2 separate regions of the Homo sapiens genome follow, and region 2 is linked to region 1. Evidence: promoter capture Hi-C in 16 types of primary human blood cells and fetal thymus (Javierre and others, 2016). All regions are on one chromosome and are shown on one strand. The core of a region is centred on a gene start or on the middle of the fragment in contact, and the rest is flanking DNA. Distances in the headings are between cores, read along the strand shown. Region 1 holds the start of ADCYAP1 (adenylate cyclase activating polypeptide 1). Region 2 has its middle 50 kb from the start of METTL4.

The links. The method cuts DNA at HindIII sites, captures the fragments that hold promoters and counts their contacts. A CHiCAGO score of 5 or more calls a contact.
Region 2: a fragment that was not itself captured here is called in contact with the fragment with the promoter of ADCYAP1 in region 1 in 1 of 17 cell types (total CD8 T cells); the score reaches 5.4 in total CD8 T cells.

Annotation. Positions count from the first base shown.
Region 1 is chr18:902,348-908,899 of GRCh38, forward strand. ADCYAP1 (adenylate cyclase activating polypeptide 1) reads left to right here and starts at 2,524. Exons shown (of 5, transcript NM_001099733.2): 1 at 2,524-2,713; 2 at 3,039-3,149; 3 at 5,312-5,443; 4 at 5,918-6,016. The coding sequence starts at 3,040. LOC124904340 (a long non-coding RNA gene) reads right to left here and starts at 4,305. Exons shown (of 2, transcript XR_007066435.1): 1 at 2,735-4,305; 2 at 417-2,001. RefSeq lists an enhancer at 5,369-6,090. The HindIII fragment of the contact is 10,218 bases long and covers 427-6,552 here.
Region 2 is chr18:2,517,870-2,524,421 of GRCh38, forward strand. No RefSeq gene overlaps it. Among named protein-coding and RNA genes, the nearest start is that of METTL4, 50 kb to the right of the region's middle. The HindIII fragment of the contact is 1,302 bases long and covers 2,317-3,618 here.

The sequences.
Region 1 (6,552 bases), core at 1,274-3,773:
CGTGTTTGTGGTTTTCCCCCTTTAATGGGCCGTGAAGTCAGCAAACTCCCCACATGGTGGCTCCCTTTACTAAAGTTGAGTAGTGAATTGTACAAGGAGTCTTGGAAATTTTCAAATATTTCTCCAGATTGAACTCAACTCAGAATTCGTGTGGGAGGAAAGAGTAAGGATTTTAATGGGGTTCACCTTTGACGTGAAGCAAGGCGGAAGACAGGAAAGCCACAGTGGGGAATAGCTTTGGGCGCTTTAGTAAGAAAGACATCTCTGCTTGATTATCTGGTAGTGTTCACCGCAGGCTCTTTGTGTGCGAGCTTGCTGCAGAGGCAGAGCTGAACATGGAAAACACGCATGTAAACAGTCCAACATAAATCAGTGAGCATATGTATCAGAGAAAAAGAGACATATTCCCATGTAGATGTGGTTTGAAGCTTTATTGAAGGCAGACAATCTGAAGCACGGCCAGGAATAAACTAAGAGGAAGCAGACAGTTTTCGGTCATTCATGGCCAGGAATAAACAAAACTTAGTTTTTTTTTTTAAGAAGGAGGAAGTATTAAATCTCAAATAAGAGCAGGAACAGCATTTAGAAGGAGAAATATAATATCTTGGAAAAAGCATGCAGAACTAATATAGCTTATTTAAATGTGAGATCCAAATCGTAGTAACAGGAAACCCTCCCACTAAACTGGAATTTCCCCTAATTTTTGTGTAAGATCCAAATAATTAAAATGCACTCTAATGGTTATTGATGGCTCTATTTTCTTTCTTTCTTTCTTCTTCTTCTTTTTTTTTTTTTTAAAGAAATAGACCTGAGTTCTCTTACTGGAGTAGAAATATATGAACCTTCTTCAATTACCCAGGAAATTGGAAGCCTCTGGGTGGATATGGTCTTCCCTTATTGCTTTCCTCTTCCCACATCATTTTCAGTTAAAAAAATTAACTGTTTCCAGCAGAGGGATTCCTGTTAGAAACCTTCATCAGGTGAACTTGTACTGGGAACCCTCATGCTTTCCCAGTCTGTCTGTGTCTCCCAAACAGAGCTGAAGTTGTAAACAAAGTGGAAAAACATATTTCTCGCCCCCAAATTCTTAAAATTTCACTTCTTGTGGAAAACACAATTTCACAACATCAATTTTTAAAATCTGTAAGAGCCACAGAAGGTGTGAAAGTAGCCAAACAGCCGGTCTAGAAATCCAAAAGCCAGGACTAACGGGGGACAGAATGCTTTTTCCTCAAATCCAGGCAGGGATGGGGAGCATTCTCAGCATTAGGGCATTTATGGACGCTACAAGAGGGAAAGGATGTATCTGAACGGTGGGGGTGATTTAGGCGATGAATCGCCACGTTAATAGCACTACTGCCAAATCTTCAAATTTAGAGGCTCTGGTGAAAAATTAAACCGGTGGCAATTTTCAACGTTTGTAGCATCTGTTACCCTACACTTCAGCACCCGGAGTCTGGACAGCTCCGCAGGCCGCGCTCCGGAGGCAGCATGAGCTCTCATCAATCTACTCATAGCCCTACTGTCAACGGCAGCCAGACTCAGGAGAGATTTACTGAAAATCCTCCAAGACTTCCCTTTAAAAACAAAACGACTTCCACATTTAATGGTCTATCTGAAAGAACATACGCAAGAAATTAGGAGATCTAAATTAAATTTATTAATAGGAGAGCTTGATGATGCTTAATTCCAGAGACCAGAGCTCTGATTGGTGAGGCTTGATGAAAAAGTAAAGAGAAATCGTAATTATATAGTTAAAAACATAACTTTTGTCATCCTCAAAATTCTAAAAATTCTTTACCTGTCCTTGAGAAACGGGTGAAATTGAAAACCATCAAAACAATTGGACTTCTTAAAAATTGGATTGTATGAGTGAAAGGTGTTTATGAGAAGTCGATGACTCCGGATCTTATCATCCAAGAGGACAGCACAGAATAGTTAATATGTTCCTTGAGGGACTAGGATGCTGACGTCTTTTTCTGATACCCGATCATTACGTGACTGAGAAAAAAAAAAAGGAAGTCATTTCATGAATAAAAATCGGAGCGCAACAGTGCAACAAAATATTCTGTACTTAAAGGCAACAGGCAGGCAGATGTTGACAAAGAGGGCTCTCCAAAAACCATGTTCGGATAGATTTTTGCGAACTGCACAGATAAATAGGAGCAGAAGGCCGGTCACCTCTGTAACCAGCGGTAGCAGCAGCAGAAGCCGCAGCTTCAGAGGCAGCCGGAGAGACCTCGGAGCAGAGAAGGCGCCGCCGACCCTCGCGGCTGCCTGGCCCGCGGCTCCTACAAAGGCGGGCTAGCCGCCCGCCCTCTCCCTTGCCTTCCTCCCCTTCTTTTCTGACTTTCCCTCTTTCCCTTAATCGCCTGCTTCTTCCTCCGGGTGGACTTACGGCCACCTTGCTCCTCCGCGCTTCACCTCATCGCCCCCTCTTTCTTTCTTCTGCCTCTCTCTCTGCGCCCCCTTCTCTCCGTGTCACGCTCCCTCCTGGTTCTGCGCGTCTACAAACTTTTGAGCAGAACACGAGCCTCGGCAAACGAGTCCCGCAGCTCCTCCTGCTGCTCCCGCTGGTTCCTGCGGCTTCTGCTCAGACACCAACGCCAGACGGCGATGCCTCTCGGGTGGTGACTCCAGCGCAGGAACTTGAAGAAGCGCTTTGCCCGCCGTCCTACCTGGCAGCTCTCCTGGCAGCGGGAGGAGTTGAAGGGTAAGGGAGGGAAAATCTTACCAAAGCGACCGGCTCACTCGACTGCTGATTCTTTCGCTTGGCATCGCGTCAGGGGAGTTAGCTTTCCTTCAGCCGGGTCTGGCTAGTTATTGGGCGCCGGGTAGATGCATATATATATATTTTTTTCTAACTATAGCAAGCAAGAAGTGGCAGGGCGCGCACCGGCTGTCGCCAAGTGCTGTTCAACTCAGGGAGCCGGGGCTTCGCTCCGTCCCTCCCCCGGCTTCCAGAGCTTTTTGGGGTTGGAGGGTGGGAGGCCAGGGGCGTTCTCACAGCTGTGTGTCCTCTTTCCCATCCTGCGCAGAATGACCATGTGTAGCGGAGCGAGGCTGGCCCTGCTGGTCTATGGGATAATCATGCACAGCAGCGTCTACAGCTCACCTGCCGCCGCCGGACTCCGGTTCCCCGGGATCAGGTAGGTGCTGGCTGCCTGGCCCAAGCAGGAGCTGGGGCTTCCCAGGCACAGACGCTTCCTCACGGTCTCCTTCCTGCAGTCCTTTGGGTCCAGACTACTAGCATCGCCCTCTGCGCCCCCGGTGCGCCTCCGCCAGCCTCGGCTGGACAGCGGGTCCCCATTCTAGCCGAGGGTCTGGCAGGCTCCGCGACTGCTCGGACGCCTCCCCCAGCCCTAGGCAGCTCAGGGTCCCGGGTAGAGCCAGTGAGCTTCTGGCCGCTGGAGAACCCCCCCTCCCCCAACCCGGCCCACAGGATGGGGGCAGGGCACGGCCCCTAGCTTGGTTTCTTTTACCTATTCTTGGGACGAGTTAGGAGAACTTCAGCTCTGGAGCCTGGCCGGGGGTTGAGCGTGAAGCTCCCTCGGACTTTGCTTTGTTACTGCTTGTTCTGGACTATCCGGGTGGGGTCTCTCTCTCTCCTCCACCCTTTCTTTTCATTTCATTCCAATTCTTTCCCCTGAAGAGCTTTCTTTCAAGTGATCCGTGTTCCAACTGCATTTTGAATCCCAGGCTGTCTTGGGGGGCGTGCGGTGGGGAGGGTGTTGGCCCGGTGTGATTGAGGAAAAGCGACTTAAGAGAGGGAAGAACAAGGACGAGACTGCGAAGGAGGGGGAAAAACAGGCGCAAAGGAGGAGGAAGGGAAAGCCAGCAGGCAGGCAGGACCGGGAGAGCAGCCCTGCCTGGCCCGGGATGGAGGAACCTTGGCTTTTTTCTTAACCCCGGGTTTCTAACCGGCAGGCGCGGCCCAGGTTCCCGGAGGCAGCCCCAGAGTCGCGGACCGATGTGCCAGGCTGTGGATGAGCCCTGGGTAGGGGAGGGTTCGTACCAGCGGCGCCTGGGGCAGCGAGGAGCGCGCGTTCTGCCTGCGAAGCTGCCTTCTCCGAGCCCCGCCCAGGAACATTAGCTCTGGGGGGCCGCTGATCATTGATTTGGACGGAGAGATGGGTTCTGGGTTCTGTATTAGGATTCCAGCATCTGGGCTCGAGGCAGGGCAATATCCAGAAAGACCCCAGGGTTCGGGGTACCCGGGCCAGGGCTGAGGCGCATCGCCGAGCAAAGGCTGGGTGCGAGGCGTGCGGAATGATGCGCTTGCCTTGCCCGGGCCTCTCCAAGGATGGAGAAAAGGCGAGTGAAGCAGCGAAGTACGACTCCAACCCCGCCCAGAGAGTGCTACTAGCGCTGGCTGCACGCCAAGTCTCTCCAGGGGTCCAAAGCGAGAGGGATTTGTTTTAACCCATCTCTACCCGTCCTGTGTCAAGAACGGAGGCTGTAGAGGGCGACTGCGAAGTCGCCAGGCACTCGCTGGATCTCGGTCCCCCTCCTCGTGCTCTGGGGTTGAGATGGGGCACCGCCATCGATAACAGATCAGCGCGAACTATTCGTTTAGTGGCCTTAAAACACCCTGGTTTCACCCTCAGCTATTTTCAAGTTCCCGTGTGCCTGGCACTTTCTCCGTGCGAGAAGCACCGGAGGGTGCGGACGCGCCACAGTCTGAGCCGCCGCCGAACTGGCTAAGTTTAGGGGCATTTATTATTCATGTTCCTGCCAGATCCTCGCCTGCCCAAAATAGAAACCGAGGTTCTCCGTGACCTACATCTGCTCGGAGAAGGGCTCCCCTGGGCTCGGAGGCTGGGGTGGGGGTGGCTGAGGAGTTGGCCCCCGCACGCCCCACGCATCCTCTCCTTTGCTTTCTGGGCCTCCCCATTCGGGTCTTCGCGTGGGTCAGCGCCCGGTCTCCCAGGGCCTTTCTCGTCCCCGCCCGTTGCTGCTTTGGGGAGGCTCGGGAGCCAGGCGGGGAGGGGGGCGGTCCTTTTCCGTAGACAGGTGTGCGCGATCGGCGGAGACGCCTCGGTTTCCCAGCGCTTGTTGAGGCCGTGGCCCGCAGGACGACCCTTTACCCGCGAAGGGGGGGTGGGCGGGCCGCCCGGCGGGGTAGGAGTGGTTGGGTGTCGTTGCCTCCTCCTTACCTCTGCTCCCACCCCCAGTCCTGGGAGAAGAGACAATTCTCAGCGGAGGACTTTTATCACCTGTGAAAATCCGCGCGAGCCCCTTACTTTGGATCCTCGCCGAGCTGGGGAGGAACTTGCACTGACCACACCTTCTGTCCCCGGCCACCCCGCAGGCCAGAGGAAGAGGCGTACGGCGAGGACGGAAACCCGCTGCCAGACTTCGATGGCTCGGAGCCGCCGGGCGCAGGGAGCCCCGCCTCCGCGCCGCGCGCCGCCGCCGCCTGGTACCGCCCGGCCGGGAGAAGGTGAGATTCGCGCGGCCTCGCGCACACCCGCGGCTGGGAGCTCGGGACTGCGGTGACGGGAGGGGCAGTGTGGTGACCCACCCAGGATTTTTTTTTTTTTCCCGTGAAAGTCCTCAAGCCTGTCCTCTCCCTGGCCCGATCCTATTGCAGCGACAGAAAATCAGCAGCGGGCGGGTCTGTGTGGACCTGAGGGCCGCGTGGGGACCGAGGGGGGCTGTGGCCCAAAGAGTGGCAGTGAGTGGCGTCAAGGAACCCACACTCCGCATCTGCCACTCCTAGAGCCGGGACTAGCTCCCGATCCTAGCAGTTGCTCTCGAGATCATCCCGGGAGTTATTGGCGAGTTCTGGGCCTCTGGAGGTTTCCCTGTCAGCCTCCCCGGCCGCCGAGGGGGCGCGCGCCCAACAAGGGGGTCTCTAGCGGCCACCTGGGGACAGAAACAGTGACCCTGGGCGCGCACTTTGCCTCCCCGTTAGAGATGTCGCCCACGGGATCCTTAACGAGGCCTACCGCAAAGTGCTGGACCAGCTGTCCGCCGGGAAGCACCTGCAGTCGCTCGTGGCCCGGGGCGTGGGGTAAGAGTTTGTGGAAGGATTAACCTGCGCGCGCCGGGGTGGGTGCCTGTGCGGGGCGCGCGGGGCGGGCGGCGGTGGGTGCCCGTGGGGGCCAGGGTGAGTCTGCGCCCCTGGGTCTGGGGTGGGCATCCGCCACGGGTCGCAGTTGGAGATTTTGAAGTGGCACTTTAAATTTGCCCAGAGAGCTCTGGAAGAGGCAAAAAGGGAACGCGAGCCAGGGAGTTTGATCCGTTTTGAATGAAAAGAAAGAGAAACCAAACCAAACCTCTCAGTCATCCAAAACCTTCAGGCTTCCAGGGAGGTTTTGCTATAATTTTCTCTAAGCATGACTGTTTCTGGGGGAGGGGAAAGGGGTGGTTGTATTTACTGAAAATTCAAATCGAAATAATAAATGGCCAAATGTGGACACTTATGGACCCAAACAGTTTTGCTCACGCCAGAGAAACTGAGAGCACAGGGCTTGTGTGAAGCCTATCTCGGCAGAAGGCAACATTCTAATAAAGCCCGTGGGAAAACAGATTACATTTTCGCCATGA
Region 2 (6,552 bases), core at 1,718-4,217, 1.6 Mb after region 1:
GGCAGGACAGAGGTGGAAGTAGGAGTAGGGAGAGGAGAGTGTCCCCATCCCTTTAGCTGTTTCACTCAGCCAAGAAGTTATGATTCCAACTGTGTACCTAATTGTAATTTTGTCCTACCTTACGTGGGCTACTGAAGGAAACATATATAAAGCAAATAATCATGATTATGAAATGTAAGAGCTTTTAGCAGGACATGAGTAGAACTTCCACATTTTCTCATGTTCCCATCTGTGGGAAGCGGCACAAAGGACCACATCTGCATCACATAAGCACTGCAGGTCACAATCATCTCTAGGCATCTGATCTGCTTTCCATGAGAAGGAAAAATTGTTTCCTGAGTGTCCGGTCCCACGGAGCAGATTTTCTCAAGGTCTTCTCCCCCATCTATATATAATCATTTTGCCTCTGCATCTGGCACCTCGCATCTTGGACTCAGCTTCACTCCCAGCAGCAGTAAACTTACATATGACTAATTATGAGAATTAATACATCGAACTCTCATGAGCTTGGTTTTGAACCTGTGGAATCCTTAGCCAGGATGAGCATCCCTGTTAATCTGGAGAATGCCTGCATGTAGGAAGTCCAAAGCACACAGCAGAAGGCCTGGCAAAAAAGACAATGAAGGGGATGGCTTGAGAAGGGGTTGTAGGCCTAAAGCCTTGCTGAAATAGCCTCGCCAGAAAGGACAGAGGCCTACAGAGACTGACAGTTCAGGGGTGTGGAAGATGACAGGGCTAAGAGACAAAGTGAGATTAAATAGTCACAGCTCCGGCTGGAACGCATTCCAGGTGACTGTGCTGACACAGAGGAAAGTGTCGAGAGTTTCCCGAAACAGGTTGGCCTTTGTTAGTGCAGTCCAGGAAGAACTCTCCAAACTGCAGAGGACTGTCTGGGCTCTGAAGAGAACACTGGCTTAAAGTTTTATGCTTCAGCAAAATACAGCTGTTAGTGGACTGGGTTGCCAGGGAAGGGTGAGGCCTCTATCAGAATGGAAGTAACCAACTTCCAGTGACCTTTTAAGGAGGCAGAGCAGATAGCATGGCCATGCTATCTGTCCTCACACTCAAACTCACACGACTCCCGTTGCCCTTTTATCTTTTACATTTAAGTTTTCTATCATTTTGTTACTATTCTATACTCTGTAATCCAGCAATTATAAATTGTAAACCCAGGAGGCCAAAGACCATGTCTGTCTTGCTCCAGACTACATCCCCTTGGACTACGTGCTAAGTAGATATATTTAAAATATTTGCTGAACTACTGAATAAACTAGATTGTTGACCCAAGTGCCAAATACTTTATCATCATATCTTCCCCTCTATCAAGATGTACTGAAAAGCTCAAGAGAAAACTTCTAAAATATTCTTATGTCATATTTTGGTCCTTTTTCTTGGGTATGTGCAAAACAATTATGTCATAGATTAAAAATTTAAAGTGGGCCAGGCGCGGTGGCTCACACCTGTAATCCCAGCACTTTGGGAGGCTGAGGCAGGCGGATCACGAGGTCAGGAATTCAAGACCAGCCTGACCAATATGGTGAAACCCCATCTCTATTAAAAATACAAAAATTAGCCGGGCGTGGTGGCACGCACCTCTAGTCCCAGCTACTCAGGAGGCTGAGTCAGGAGAATCGCTTGAACCCAGGAGGCGGAGGTTGCAGTGAGTCGAGATCGCGCCACTGCACTCCAGCCTGGGTGACAAAGCAAGACTCCGTCTCAAAAAAAAAAAAAATTAAAGTGAACTCTAACAATTGAAATTACAAGTAGAATACTGAGAATATTGTAAAAACAAAGTCTATCGATACGCAAAATCCCCTGGGTCTCAGTGAGGTGGAGACAAGCTTCAGATATGCATTGTAGCCCTGTGGGCACTACGTTTTCTATCATGTGAATGCACTCTTCACTATATTTGGGCAGGCATGGGATGGTATATGACTATCAGAACAATAGCAGTTGTATAATTTTTAACAAAATTGTCTTGATAGAGTTTGAGATCAGCCTGGGTAACATGGTGAGACCCAGTCTCTACAAAAATACAAAAATTAGCCATGTGTGGTGTGTGGTGGCATGCACCTGTAGCCCCAGCTACTTAGGAGACTGAGAGGTGGGAGGGTTGCTTAAGCCTGGGAGGTTGAGGCTGCAGTGAGCCATAATCACCCCCAATGCACTCCCACTTGAGCAACAGAGCAAGACCCTGTCTCAAAAAAAAAAAAAAGATTGTCTTGATATTTATAGGAGAAAGTTTTCTAAAACATTTATTTCCACAGGTATTCCATCATTAAACTATGGAACACTGAAAAAAAAAATGACATGAAAAGCTTGAATGATATAAGAAATTCAGTAAAATCCTAATTGAAATATATTTTGCATAATAGCAATTCTTACCAATATATGTCTTTTATAAAATGCTTATGAATACTTTAGAGAATCAGGGCACAGATTTGTAGTCCTTAAACACTCCAGAAAATAATTATTTCTATGTGCAAAAGAATTGACAATGTTCTCTTAGTATTATGAGTTGTACCGCTTTAGCAACTCTAAATTATTTGAAAACCATACATTTACAACTGAGCTAATATTATAGAATAGTTTGTGGGGTTATTAAAATCATATTTTTTGAGATGGAGTCGCACTCTGTCGCCAGGCTGGAGTGCAGTGGCACGATCTTGGCTCACTCCAACCTCTTCCTCCTGGGTTCAAGCGATTCTCCTGCCTCAGCCTCCCGAGTAGCTGGGACTACAGGCATGCGCCACCACATCTGGCTAATTTTTGTATTTTTAGTAGAGACGGGGTTTCACCATGTTGGCCAAGATGGTCTCGATCTCCTGACCTCATGATCCACCCGCCTTGGCCTCCAAAAGTGCTGGGATTACAGGCGTGAGCCACCGCGCCCGGCCAACTGTCTTCCAATCTTTCTATTCCACTGACATGGCTGTTTCTTAGGAAAGCTATAAATATTATTGCAATATTACATCTTCTTAAATATTTCTACAGGTCTGAAACCTCTATTAATCCCCACCTTCTAGAAAACTCTTACTTCCATTTGGGAAAAAGGAGAAGAGGGTTTGAGACCTGACTATCACTGTGGGTAAAACAGTAGACAAGTCACTTAACCTCTCCGGGCCTCATTTGTAAAAGAGGGATGTATAATAATGTAAATAATGTCTGCCCCACAGAGTTGTGAGGACAAATAAGACACTGCATGTAGCAGTCCTTTGTAAACTGCACTTTACAGACACACTAATGCATTATATCTGGGAACTAAAATTTCCACTCACTCCACCAAAAACCTCCCTTCCCTACATTAACCTTCAACTTTAATACAAACATTTCCAATCCAGTATTAACCACATCTTTCTCAAGTTCCTACCATGCATGAAGCATGGTGCTGGGAGCTAAAGATCCAAAAGGGAAGAGTCAGGGAGGAGGCTGAAAACTGCATGAGCTCAGCTGTCCCATTGTGTGTAACAGAATAGAACAACCTTGAGACATGTTGTGTACAAGCATAATCAAAATACTTGACTTTTTTTAACTTGAGAGTTTTTTTCTCTTTATGTTCTTTTACTTAATAACTTTCAGAAATTTCAAGAGAGCAAAAATATATTTTCTGAAATTAAAAGCTTTTAGAGTATCAAGCTTACAATAGAACATTGTGTCCTCAGAGACAATAAACCATCTGTCCTATCAATATGTTTAAAATCCTAGTGATATAATGCCAAATATAGTATATTTCCGAGTCTTAACAAATGGAAAGGTTGACAGAATCTCAAGGCCCTTATTCCTCCACGGACTGCCCAACTCCATCATAGATCCAAGAGTGGGTTTCAGAACCTCGTCTATTATAAGCTTGGACAGATCAAGTGTAAATGCAGAGACCACTTTGTCTAGAGTTAGGCTTGGGCTGGACTGTCCATGTGTCCTCTGGGCCCTGCCATATTGCCTGCTGGGCTTTCCAAGGCACCCTCCCAAGTGAAAGAAGAGGTAGCCCTGGGCCCTTCTTTCCAGCCATTGGAGAGAAGAGACAAGAGGGGAATAGAAAGAAAGGGAAGGAAAAGAAAGGAGAAAGGAAGAGATCCAAAAGTAAATGGCCACCCCCAAAAAGTAACATGTGAAGAAAAGCACTTTCAGCCTCTTCATACTTCCCTCTGAAACTTTCCCCTTTATGCCAAGCTCCACCCCATGGTCTAGATATATGGACCTGAGGACTTCATTCTAGATCAACCTTCTTTTCTCTAGGAGGGAGGGAGGGGCAAGTATGAGTTCAGCTGGGCTTTTCCTCCCGTGCCTTCCACCATGAGAAAGTCATGTCCTATTCAAGGCTGTTCCTCTGGCCTGAGACACTGAATGAGAAGATGTGCATAGTGTCTGAATCTGACCTGTGATCTGAAGCAGAACCATGCCAGCCAACCCGCAACTACAAACATACAGAGTGAGAAATAAATCATGTTAATGTAAACCACTGAGATTTTGAAGTGGTTTACTGTTACGCAGTGTAACCCAGCAAACACTACCTAATTAATCTCCCCAAATAAGTCATGCAACTGTGTTTGCCCCATTACTCCTCAGCTGACACAATCGAGTCAATAACTTAATTGTAGCCTCTTCTGGCTTTCCATCTCCCAAAATCTTTTTAATGTCCCATAAAACCCTTGTGATTTGGACACCATTACCCAACCCTCCCTTACTCAGCTTTAGCTCTCTGGCTTCCTTGCTCTGTCTCAAACCTACCAGATTTACTCCCCACCCAGAACCTTTGCATCTGTTGTTCCCAATGCCTGGCACGCTCTCTTTCTAGATATCTAGTGTCTTGCTGTCTCACCTCCTTCCAGTCTTGCTCAGGAGACCTTGCTAACCACACTACTTAAAAGTGACCCCACCCCAGCTCTCTGCACATCCTTTCACTGCTTATTTTTCTCTAAGAAACTTACTACTTTCCATAATATATGTATTGATTATTAATATTATATACTGACTTGCTCTCCTTATTAAAAAGTATGCACCATTTCTGTCTGTTTTGTTCCTGACTAACCCAGTATCGTGGAGGACTCATAGAAAGTGTTCAACATCTTTAAAGTGCTGGGGGAAAAAAATCAAGAATTCTATAGCCAGTAAAACTACTTTTCAAAAATAAAGATAATTAAGTGTTTAAAATAAAAATGATAGTATGTCACAGAGCTTATAATATATGTAGAAATAAAATCTAAAAGAATAGCAAAAAGGATGGAAGAGGGCAATGGAAGCATACTGTTGTAGAGCTCTTATATATAGTCTAATGTTATTTGAAGGTAGTCTATGACAAGCTAGAGTTAGGAGTTGTAAACCCTAGATAAACCATTTAAAAAGAAAAACAGTAGAGATAACTTTTGAAGTCAATACTGAAGATAAAATGGAATCATAAAAAAACAATAAATCCAAAAGAAGTTGGGTAAAAAGGGAAGAAGGAAGAACAGATAGCTCAAATAGAAAAAAAAATGGCAGATGTAAACCCAATCATATAACTACATTCAATATAAATAATCTAAATATTCCAATTAAAAGAGATTTTCAGGCTTGGCACAGTGGCTCACACCTGTAATCCCAGCACTTTGGGAGGCCAAGGTGGGCAGATCACCTGAGCTCAGGAATTTAAGGCCAGCGTGGGCAACATGGTGAAACACCCATCTCTACTAAAAATACAAAAATTAGCCAGGCACGGTGATGTACACCTGTAGTCCCAGCTACTCGGGAGGCTGAGGCAGGAGGATCATTGAGCCCACTAGTTCAAGACCTGCCTGGGCAACATAGTGAGCCTGGAAGGCAGAGGTTGCAGTGAACTGAGATTGTGCCACTGCATTCCAGCCTGGGCGACACAGCAAGACATTGTCTCCAAAAAAAAAAAAAAAAAAAAGGCAGAGAGAAATTTTCTAATGTTTTTAAAAAACAAAAAGCAACAGTGTTCTTTCTATAACAAAACCACTTTAATAAAAGGGCATAGATAAATTAAAAATAAAATGAGAAAGAAGATATTCCATAAAGACACTAATTATAAGAAAGCTGGAGTGGCTATGTTAATATCAGCCAGTAGATTTAAAGGCAAGAAATATCAGCAGGGATAAAGATGGATATTTAACAATGATAAATGAACATAATCTCAAATGTGTATGCATTAAAAAATAAAGCTTTCAAAATTCACGAAGCAAGTTGGGCATGGTGGTGCCTACCCTGTCCCAGCTACTCAGGAGGCTGAGGCAGGAGGATCATTGAGCCCAGTAGTTCAAGACTTTCCTGGGCAACATGGTGAGACCCCATCTTACAAAAAAAATTCATGAAACAAATGCTGACAGAAATAAAATAAATACACAAATCAAAAAGCATAGCTGGAAATTTCAGTAACTGATAAATACACATAAAATAAGTAAGTATATGCCAGGCACAGTGGCTCATGCCTGTAATCCTAGCACTTTGGGAGGCCGAGGCCGGCAGATTGCCTGAGCTCAGGAGTTTGAGACCAGCCTGGGCAAAACAGTGAAACCCTATCTCTACTAAAATAAAACAACAACAACAAAAATTACC